2 separate regions of the Homo sapiens genome follow, and region 1 is linked to region 2. The links are contacts of gene promoters, found by promoter capture Hi-C in human tissues and cell types (Jung and others, 2019). All regions are on one chromosome and are shown on one strand. The core of a region is centred on a gene start or on the middle of the fragment in contact, and the rest is flanking DNA. Distances in the headings are between cores, read along the strand shown. Region 1 has its middle 11 kb from the start of GPAM. Region 2 holds the start of TECTB (tectorin beta).

What was found. Contacts are between HindIII fragments. The study calls those that stand out against the background at their distance.
Region 1: a fragment that was not itself captured here is called in contact with the fragment with the promoter of TECTB in region 2 in 2 of the 25 tissues and cell types used here (IMR-90 fibroblasts and adrenal gland).

What each region holds. Positions count from the first base shown.
Region 1 is chr10:112,191,244-112,197,301 of GRCh38, forward strand. It overlaps a transcript of GPAM not described here. Among named protein-coding and RNA genes, the nearest start is that of GPAM, 11 kb to the left of the region's middle. The HindIII fragment of the contact is 6,486 bases long and covers 145-6,058 here.
Region 2 is chr10:112,279,810-112,285,416 of GRCh38, forward strand. It overlaps TECTB (tectorin beta), which reads left to right and starts at 3,591. Exons shown (of 11, transcript NM_058222.3): 1 at 3,591-3,687; 2 at 3,839-4,001; 3 at 4,726-4,916. The coding sequence starts at 3,926. The HindIII fragment of the contact is 8,284 bases long and covers 367-5,607 here.

The DNA.
Region 1 (6,058 bases), core at 2,138-4,637, 89 kb before region 2:
CTCAAGATGGTCATCAAATACACTGGAGCCAGGCAGTAAGCAGCCAGGCTTCTGGGAGATCTCTCTTGCCATCTCCCACCAGATAGGGTACATGACAAGGTTCAACTCCCCAGGAAGAAAGCACGGTGGGAACTAGGTAGTATTTCACGCTTCTAGCCACTAGCTGTGCCACTGGGCAGGGCACCAATTCTAGAGGGAAACTGGGGCCCTGCATGGGATAACTAGCAGAGCAGTGTAGTTAAGAAATTAGCTTGAATGTCTCTTAATTTTTAACTACTGTTTGCTTGTTCTTAGGGAATAAAAGGTATTTTTCCTTTCTCCCAGGAGCATAGCCAGGCTCTGTGGTTTAAATCCTGAGGTTTCCTAAGACCTGGAAGTAGGCTAAGTAATTGCAACTAACTGCCTTTTTGTGATCAAAAGCAAAAAAATGAGAAGCTGCTCAACTGGGGCTGGTATCCAAGAAGACAAATTCTAAATGGGCCTTTGTTTTCTCATGGACTCAAGCTGGATTGTGGGAGGAGAGATTGTCCAAGAAAAGAGTGGAGGCCAGAATGGCTCGGCATTGAGAAGGGACAGGACTCAGGGGTCTGATGGTGGCTCAGCTCTGAGATCCTTCAGATGCAGAACCTTGGAGGTGGCAGGGCTTCAAAAAAGGGTGAAGATGGGGGGACTGTGAAGAATGACAGTCCAGCACCTTAGAAACCGCAGCGAAGGTCCCAGTGGTGGAGTATGTCATGAAAGGAATGGAACTTTGAGTACCACGCAGAGCCCAGGCAAGGTGCAATGAGGAAGGGGACCAGCCTGAGCCGACCCAGGGCCTCTGCTTGGCTTCCGCACAACACAAGCAACAGGGTAAGGGGTAGGAGGGTGGAATGCCCCAAATTATCACTATTGGCCTTCAAGAGAACTTTGACATAAGCTATTTAAAGACAGAGTAATACAGTATTCATTCGTTTATCCATTCATTCATAACACACTGACTGAGAGCCTTTTTTGCAGCAGGCATCCTGCTAAGTGCTGAAGACACAGGGATGAAGAAGGTACACACAGATCCTACCCTTGTGGAATTCATGGTCTAATGGCATATGGTATGTAGGGATGGAGACAGTAGGAAGAAAGATAAACAAACTTAAAATCACAATGAAATTTTTTTAAGTGCAATAAAGAATCCAAACAGCATCTGTCCCAGAGAAGAACAGAGGTGGCCGATATTGGATAAGGTGGTCAGGGAGGACTCCTAAAAGGGGAGAGCAGCTACACTGAGGCCAGGGTGTGAGCAGGGCCTGGCCAAGACAGGAGCCCAGAGCAGACCTCTCCAAGAAGAGGGAAGAGCACAGGCCAAAGCCCAGAGGGAGGGCAGAACTTGGCAGAGAGTGAGAACTGAACCAAGGCCAGTGTGGCTGGAGTGGGTAAGTGGGAAAATGGCAGAGGAAGGAATTGGGAACACAGGCCGACCAGGTCTTTTTAAGCCATAGTAAAAAGTTTGGAAAATTCAAAATAAAATTCTGACATGTGTCATAAATGTCATGGAGGTATGTGAATACCCTTTACCTTGTAAGATTAGAGAAGGGTGAATCAAAATAGAAGCCCATGTCTATGGACTTGGTCAACCAGGAAGAGAAGAAGTGGGCAATGATTCAGGAGCTATGTTGTATGCAGGGGCCTGCCCGCCTGGGTTAAATTGGCCGCAGAGAATCTAGGTAAGGAAGAAAGTAAGTAGGTTTTGTTAGCTACCCTTTATTGAGCAATTTCTATGTGCCAAGCACTATTCTAAGTACTTTAGAGGCATTTTCTCAAATAATCACCTGTGTCAGTCATGGCGCCATCAGAAAAACGAACCCCTTCCAGACAGCTTGCTAGTGAGACTTTAATACAGAAAACTACTTAGAAAGGTCTTGGAAGAGCAGAGAAGACAAAAGTAGAAGGGTGAGGCCCAGAGATCAGCAGCAACACGAGATCACTACCCTCCCTCAGGCTGGAGTGGCAAAGACAGGTGTTGACAGAGCCAAGAGCCATCTCCTCATAGGCTACAACTGGGACCAAGGAGGGGGTCCTGACCAGGAGGAGCCAAAACCATGGAGCCACTGCCACTGGAGGTGCCACGTGAGAAACAGGGAGATACCATGACTTTTATCCTCTCTCTGCCAACTGGGGCTGACCCAAGCTTCAAGGAAGCCTGAGGAATAAGTTTGCAAGGAGGCATTGTCCTAAGATCTAGAGTAGAGCAGGGAAGGATGGGGAATAGATCCAAGGGCAAACAGGCAGATGATGGGCCCGTCCTCTCAATAGCCCCATGGGTTAGAAACTATTATTACTCCCATTTTTCAGATGGGGAAACTGAGGCACCAGGAGAGGTCAGAATCTGTAAAGTGGCAGAAACACACTTTGAATTCAGCGTCTACCTGATACTAAAGCCCAAACATACAAGGGATATATTATTCAGCTAGCCTAGGCAAGAACATGGTAGTTAGAGCTGCGCTAGCAGATCCCAGGTCTGAAAACATTATGATAATTGTTTTTAGGATTTGCTTTGGAACTGGCTCTAGTTTTTTGGTCGTCCTCATCTCAGGGCTAGGCTGCGAAGATCTTATGCTTGAAAAACATACTTCTTGCAGATACTTTTGGGACAAAAGAGGAAATGCTATTCCTTTGAGCTTGGATCCTCACAAAATTTGTCCTAAATTTTTGAAACTCATATGAACCCTTAAAGTTACTTTGTTCTAGGGAGAGTGACTATATCAGTCAGAATGCGCTAGATTATAATACAGTAACAAACGTCTTAGTCTTGAAACAACAGAGTTTGTTTCTTGCCTATGCTACATGTCAACAGCAGGTTATCCTGGGACTCTGCTCATAATGGTCACTGAGGGACCCAGGCTGAGGAAGGTTCCATGTTGATACATGCCTTCGTGTTTGCCAAGGCTGGAAAAGAGAGTGTAGTAAGCTGTACACTGGCTCTTAATCCGCTTTGTTGGGTAAAGAAGTGTAATCCTACCATGTGTCCCGGATAACTAAACATTTGTGAACAGCTCTAATGACAATCGAACCACATTTATGACACTTCTGGTTGGACTGAGATAAACCAAAGGTCGTAATGTAGAATGAAGAGACTTAGGTGCTTCTAACAAGACAGGCTACACTATATAACATTTTAAAAGGTTGTCTTTGCTGTGCTTAAAATTGCATCTCTGCGGACACTATGTCTTTCAGGAAAACCTTTTGTTCCTAAGTATTGCTTAAGAACATTTCCCTAAAAATCACCATTGGTTCTTAAAAGATACTGTCCAAGATGGTTTGTGGAGCTGAGATACTGGCTGGAATGATATGAAAATAAAGCGTCTTGTCTTCTGGAAAAGAGATCCTAAGGTGGACTAGATTTTAACATGGACAAACCCAGACTCATTCCAAGCTTTCTACTGTTGTATAACCTGACGGCAGATTATTGGGTAGGGATGGCTTGCTGAGCAAGTCCCAGCTCTGGGTGTAAAGAGCCAGGCAGTCTCTCCGCTTTCACAACCTTGTGCTCTCCTGCATTTCTTTCTACCCCCCTAGATGTTTTCTCTTGGCATGTTTTGCTGGCTCAAGTCCTTCCTTCATTCTCACTTCATACCATCTCCTCAGCAGGCCAAGAACCTGGAAGTTCTTGACTTTTTCCTGCATCCAATAGAACATTAACTCTTAAACAATTTTACCTTTTAAATAGCTTTAAACCCATCACCCCCTTATCTCCCTCTCCACCTGCACTATCCTAATCCAAAATATCACCATCTTCACTGGGGGGCATAATGACTCACTGCCTGGATGCCCCACATCTACTTCTGCACTGGCTACCCATCCAGACATCCCATACACATCAGCCAGACCGAGCATTTGAAAATGCAGCGTGCCAAATGCACCATGCCAAATACCCCCATACACATCAGCCAGCCTAAACATTTGAAAATGCATCATGCCAAAATGCACCATGCCAAATACCCCCATCGCTCTCCCTTGTCACCATCCCAACTGACTAAAATCCTTCCATATATTCCTTACAGATTTTAGAACAAAAACTAAAGCCTGTAACATGTGTTAAATACCTAGCTCAGTCCGCCCTTGCTAATCTCACCACCCCCCATCTCCGTCCACGTACTCTTTCGCTCTCTGACTCCAGCCACCCTGGCTTTCTTTCACTTCCCCACGAAAGCCAGGCTCTGCCCTTCCCTGGCATTTGCTCTGCCTGCAGTGGTCCCTGCCACATCTCTTCTCTGACTCATACTTCATAACACAGCTCAAGTCTCACCGCCTCATGAAAATTTTTGTGGACCCTTCAGACTAAGGCAGGCCCCTTTCTTAAGTTTCTTCCCCATGGGAATGACCATAATTATAACTAAATACTTAATTGTAGAATTAATCATTTAATATCTGCCCCTCTCTCTCTCTTAAATGGCATTCTTGACTTTTCCCCTACATTCCTAGTACCTGACGGTACCTTGCTAAAGCAGATGCTCAATATCTATTTGTTGAATGTCTAAGTACAAGACATGATTAGCTACTTATGAAAGGACAGGGTGCATGGCTGTTATAACTATCAAGAGTCCTGAACAAGGATAGCCTTAGGAATAGAAACATTCAAGGAGCGATGTGGGAACCACAGAGTTTGGGGGCTTGTGACTTTGTAGCTCTTAGAGCAGGCATGCATCTAAGGTAGACAGCAGAGTTCCCATCTTCTCTCCCTCACCCCACTCCCTGGGTCAGAGTAGAGAAAACATGTGACTACAAGGAAAACTAGGGGCCCTGATCTCCAGTGTAGGGGGTGGTCTACACAGAACAGAATGCCACAATCTAGAACAAGGCCAAGCAGAGCCTGGGAGGAAACACACACATGCCCAATACTCTTGAAAGAAGGAATTTGAAAAGGCTTGAAAGGGAAAAACTAGGCATGGCTAGAGACTTATTTTTATTGTTTCTCCCTCAGAATCAGTCTTTGTCAATAGGAAAGAATTTTCATGAAGAGGAGAAGCTGAACTACTTTGCAATTAGATTATTCTTTTTCTAATGAGTTCAAAGTAAGGTAGAACCTCACTCATTAAGTATAATCGGAAGGAAGATCAATCTAAGTTCAACTAAGGCTAATTTTTAGAATACTTCTAAAGAAATTTAGAATTTTTAGAACACTTCTAAAGAAATTTGACATATAAAAGCTCAAATATTTTCCTTTGGAAAATTTATTCTCTTGGGTGTTCTAAACATACTCTGTGTAACTGTCTTTGGCTTTTAACTTACAGATTTCCCAAAAGAAAAGGCCTCCAAAGTAAAGAGTGTTATGAACCTAGTTTCCAATTATCTGAATTACCTTATATAAAGCAAAACCTAAGTAAGCATAGCAGGATTGGTTATGGTTTTAACCACATCTTTTCTAACTAGCAGTCATCATCATCTTACTCCATACAATATTTGATGTTTATTACAAGGATGATCTCCAAAATGCAAGTGAGATATTAGAGAATAGGCTTTTCATAATCCAGGATCACAAGGTGCAATTTCTTCTTCTAGCCCCATTTTGTTTTACTACTGGTTGGATGGATCACAGAGACCAACACTTCCCTCACCCCATTCCTTTTGCACATCTGATTCTGCTTACAAGGTAACAAAACACCTTCCCCCTTTATCAATCACATCATAGTTATTTTTCCAGAGGCTCTCACTTCTGGGCCTACTTCACCTCCATAAAGCATTGGAACATATGTAAATTAAGCACACATACATAAATTGTAGAATTCCTAGTAACTGCTATAGGTAATCAATGGGTTAAATAAATCAAGATCAATAATGTTGGTTTTTCTCTAGCTTATTTATAAGTGATGTTTTTAGAGAATAGTTCATTTAAATTTCTAGGTCACCTGCTCATTAACTGTTGAATAAATATAATCTAGGTAAAGAATGAATTATATCTAAAGCTCCATCAATTGATCAAATCCTAAATGAATGAAATTTTAACCTCCCAGAGATAAAGTTTCATTGACTTTAAGCTCCACAATGTTGTGGCATGCCTTAGGTAAACAGTCTGAATTTTTTT
Region 2 (5,607 bases), core at 2,341-4,840:
ACATTTTGTCCCATTCTCTTTCGTATGCAAATTAAACATCTAGAGACCAGCCTGCCACAAAAGTTAAATCTACTTCCCAATTTCATTCAGCTCGTCCTTGAAAGGAGTATCATGTACCTGATGGTTAGCTGGATTCCCACCCTAAGAAATTGTAGGCGACATCTCTTTCTCTGTCCCAGGATCTTATCGCTATCAGACTTCTCTAGAAATCAAAAGCACCTGCTCTTTTGTTAAGGTGGACTTCTAAAGAGAGAAATATTACCATTAGCAAACACCCAGAGTTCACATGAGAACGCCACTGACAGGTCCTTCCAGCCTGAGGATACCAACCTCAGATGAACACACTTCAGGGCAGCGAGTCTTCATAGAGTGCTTACTGTGTCCAGGCACTGTGCTAAGCAATTTATATGCCTTATTTCATTCTATCTTTGCAAAAGCCATAGGCAATGAGAAGCCCCATTTTACAGATTTGAACACTGTAGGCTTAGAAAGGTCAAGTTATGAACCCAAGATAACACCATTGGAAATGTGACAGTGCCATGACCTCTAATTTCAGAACCTGTGATCTTAGTTACATATGATGTAATCCAGGGCTGATGACAATAATGTGTGTTATCTAGGGGTGACCCACTCCTACTAGGCTTCCCTCTTTGAATTTCCCAAGCAGAGCTAAGCACAGACACAAAAGGCTTTCCTGGTGCCTTGCCCTGATCGGGAAAAATAAGCCATGTCTGTGCTAGCAGACATATATCTCATTTAATAGTCTGAGTAACACTGTGTCATAGATATTAGCATATCCTTTCAGGAGAGGAGGAAATTAAAATTCCCAGAAGCCAAGTAATCTGCCCAAGAACACACAGTTAGTAATGACTGAGGTGGACTTTGGATTTCAGGCAAACAGCAGAGTCCAACTGCCCAGGCTTCTCCTATCACATCTCGCAGCATCTTGCAAGCACCCATCAGACATTTCTGCTGGGAAAGAGGAAAGGTGTCTATATCCACTGCAGCCCTGTCCATGAGTGACCCCTGCCCTGCTAAGTCAGAGGTAAGATGACACTGTTGACTTGCCTGGGCCAAAGTTGGTTGAAAAGAGATACATATCTGTAGAATCCTCTTGAAATGTGAACAAGTACTCCAAACCATGTAAAAAAACAATACTGAGGCCGGATATGGTGGCTCACACCTATAATCCCAGCACTTTGGGAGGCCGAGGCAGGTGGATCCCTTGAGCTCAGGAGTTCGAGACCAGCCTGGCCAACATGGTGAAACCCCATCTCTCCTAAAAAAAATACAAAACATTAGCCAAGTGTGGTGGTGTGTGCCTGTAATCCCAGCTACTCGGGAGACTGAGCCAGGAGAATCGCTTGAACCCAGGAAGCAGAGGTTGCTGTGAACTGAGATCACACCACTGCACTCCAGCCTGGGTGACAGAGTGAGACTCAGTCTCAATTAAAAACAAAAAACAAAAACAAAAAACAATACTGAATTGCCAGTGATGAATAATCGTTTATGTCACATCAGAAGCCTTTCCTTATGCAGTTGGGCTGTTGTACTCTTCTGTGGCTTGACTTACCTGCCAAGCATTCTGATGGTCCCTTTTTCCTCCTCTCCATCCCATAGTCCTATCTCTGTGTCCTCTCCTCCCCTAGTTCCTCAGGGAAAGAAGCCACATGAAGTGCATGCATCTTCCCAGGGCCTGGTCCAGTATACCACAGGGGCTCAATAAATGCTTACTAAAAAAGAGGGGAAAAGATACACAGAGAGTTAGTGCTAAGCCCCAGGAAAGAGGAACTCAGAGAATTCACACATATTTTCGAGATTCAAGTGTCTTTTTTCTGCTCAGGAATGAACTATGGAGAACAGTAGAAATATGCCAATGTCACTGTTCACAATAGCAAAGACTTGGAACCAATCCAAATGCCCATCAATGATAGAGCAGATAAAGAAAATGTGACACATATACACCATGGAATACTATGCAGCCATAAAAAAGGATGAGTTCATGTCCTTTGCAGGGACATGGATGACGCTGGAAACCATCATTCTCAGCAAACTAACACAAGAACAGAAAACCAAACACTGCATGTTTTCACTCATAAGTGGGAGTTGAACAATGAGAACACATGGACACAGGGAGGGGAACATCACACACCAGGGCCTGTTGGGGGGTGGGGGGCTAGGGGAGGGATAGCATTAGGAGAAACACCTAATGTAGATGATGGGTTGATGGGTGCAGCAAACCACCATGGCACGTGTATACCTATGTAACAAACCTGCACGTTCTGCACATGTACCCCACAACTTAAAGTATAATAATAATAAAAAAGAAATACGGCAATGTTTCCAGGCCACAATAAACTTGATCCTACTGTTTAAAAAATTTTTTTAATATATTCTTTCTCTTCTCCCTCTCAGCTCATTTGTTCATCATCCATAAAATATTTTGCATACGTGTCATACAATACAGATATGCCTCCTGTTACGTGAATCATAAATCTACAATGAGTCACTTTGTGTTGCATGTAAAGAAAGGAAAAGCAACTCATGGGACACATACATGCTACTGGAAATTGTCAGTTGTCTTTTCATGTAATCTACTTATTTATGTACTACTTACAGTTTACAAGAGCCTTTACATCATTGCTCTCCTACTCTGTAAGTTCAGCCCAGAATCACAGCCACCATTTTACACAGAAGGAAACTGAGTTACAGAACTTTTTAATGGCTTGCCACATGGCTATTTCCTTCATTCTTTGATACCATCATTATAAAACATCCCATCAATTTAACAATAGGTTTTGAGGAAATAAGGAAACTGTACTGTATTACTTATGCATGTTGCTTATAAGATACCTCCCAATGTTTTGAAACATTAAATGATGTGCATTATCAATAATATATCTGGAACCTTCATGGGAGTAGCATGTTATCTGTTGTTTTCAGTGGGATCTTGTCGGGTGACTAAGAATTGAATTATAAGAGAGACTTTCTAAGTTTCTTCTTCCAATGTCATTGCTCTGGGAGACTAATAAAGCTTTAGAAATCTCAAGGGTGTACAATTAAAAGTTGTTCTTCAGGATGAAGTTCAAGACACTAGAGTTTATTTATTGTTTTTTAATTAGAGGGAAAATCCTTTAAAATGTTTACGTTCACACACACACACACACATATATTTATAGTTATCAGGTGCAACAATGTTAAACCTGAGTTTTCTTATCAAAGTTTAGTTTACCTACATACAAAAATAAGAAAGCAGGAAATAAAGCAAAGAAAGCAAGACAAAAGAATTAAAACTGTCACCTGGAATTGTACAGAAATAGTTTGCCTCCATTCAGAGTTATTTTCTGTACAAAAGGGGAAAAAATCAACTTTTCCTCCCAATCTTGGTTGAAGCAGTTAAAAAAAAGTTTTTCCAACTCTGTAAAGCAAAAGAAATTAGATTCAAGTAACTGAGCTTCCCATCGGATTACTGTGCTAGCCCCCCTTTTTATTCCCCACACAGTGGATAATGCATGCTCATTGTGACTTATCTGGAGCTGGTTTCTTTTACATCCTCGGGCTATATAAAGTCAAACTAGGACTGGGGCAGCAGATTTGGGGAGCATCCAGCAGCCAGCCTCTACAGTCCGGAGAGGATGAAACAGTCGGGAACATGAACAACTCCATGTGTCATTGACGCTTCCAACGGTATGAGCCCCACTTTTTGCCTCTCAGCGCTAACAGGAAACAATTAGAAACGACACAACATCGTTTATCTCCCTTGAAAATTTCCCCAAGACTGTATGTGCGGCTTTGTTCTTCCCTTGATTTTAACTTTTCATTCATGTTTCTGACTTAGAATGATCGAGGCTCAGGCCCTGGAAGGACCGTAAACATTTGGCCAGCTTGGTTTGGATACCTGGCAGAGACCAGGTTCTGAGAAGCAATGGTGACGAAGGCCTTTGTCTTGTTGGCCATCTTTGCAGAAGCCTCTGCAAAATCGTGTGCTCCAAATAAAGCAGGTATGTCCTCGCCAAGTCCATTTTCCTGGGACGAAAAGTTTCCTGAAGTTTCCTTTTACAATGCTCAGCACTTCTGTGCTTAACTTGTTATAAAAATGTAATGATGTAGCCAAGCAGGAAAGTACTTAAGCACCCCCTCCAATACCAATCAGACTTTTCCCAAATGGAGCAAAGATGTATTGGATAAACTCGGACTTTTTTTTTAATTAGAGAATGCTTGCTCTATTTCACTCTCTTACTTACACACTCTCTCCCCACATCCCATTATATATATATATAAAACATCTCCACTTTTTTTTCCATTCAACTACTGAATTTCTATCTTGTGCCCTAAATCAGTATTTCACAATATTATGCATGAAATTGACATTTAAAATGTTTAAATTATGTGCTCATTGTTATGGAGATTTTAATATATATTTATGTATGTCTAATACATCCTACCTGTGGTTTCACAGATACATTCCTTGTTCCAAATGGACTAATTTTAATTCCATGTTAAACGTGGTGCAGTCATTAAATAAATGCAGCAAAAACTGTGAGAGTGACTCTTCAATGACTGAAGTTTGGGGAAAACTTTTGTCACAGCTGGTGAGGAATAGCAGGGAAGGTGTTTTTAACCAACTGCTTTTGCATGCTCAGGTGTAGCTGGAATCCACTGTTCGTTACGTAGGTTAGCATGATTACCCTAACTGATTTTAAACTATATGTGTGCTCTTTCCAGATGTCATTCTTGTGTTTTGCTATCCCAAAACCATCATCACCAAAATCCCCGAGTGTCCCTATGGATGGGAAGTTCATCAGCTGGCCCTCGGAGGGCTGTGTTACAATGGGGTCCACGAAGGAGGTTACTACCAATTTGTGATCCCAGATTTATCACCTAAAAACAAGTCCTATTGTGGAACCCAGTCTGAGGTAAGACCAGGCCACACAGTGCAGAGTTGTTTAAGGTAAGGCAACTGGACCCAAGAATGAGATGTCTGCCATCTGTCCTTGAAAGGATTCAGAATTTACCCATTTCCTTTTAAAGGTCAGTCCTGATTCCCAAATATCCTGGAATGTTGGTGTTATTTAAAATATTCTCTTCTGCCTAGTTTAGATAACTCTTTTGGCTTGACTCTTATCCTCCTAATTTGTTGCCAAAGCCAGTGAAGCTACCTTCTAGTAGAACAAAGTACATTTCCCACCTTCAAGTTCTGAGCCTGTGCTCACAAGCCGCCATCCTTCCTAGATTGGATGGGTGGATGGATGAGCCATTCTCTGCCTGAGACTTCAAAGTGGTGACAAAGAGCATTTGGAAGAGCAGTTTAGGGAGTGACCAATGTATAATACAACTTCTAACGCAGTCTTGTGAAGTGCCCAGGATGGGATATCATAAGATAATTATTAGGAAACAGACGCCCTCTTACCAAGTATCATATGACAGACGAGAAGTCTGAGACTTCCCAATAAAGTCACTCATTCAGGGCCACAGAGCCTGTAGGGATGGAATCAGGAAGGGAGGCTAGGTCTCCCAACCTCCCCACCAAGATCTAGCATTCCTACTGCCCTACCTGCCAGAAGGCTGTGCATCTATCCATCTCAGAGCATGAGAGCAAAGAGCTTC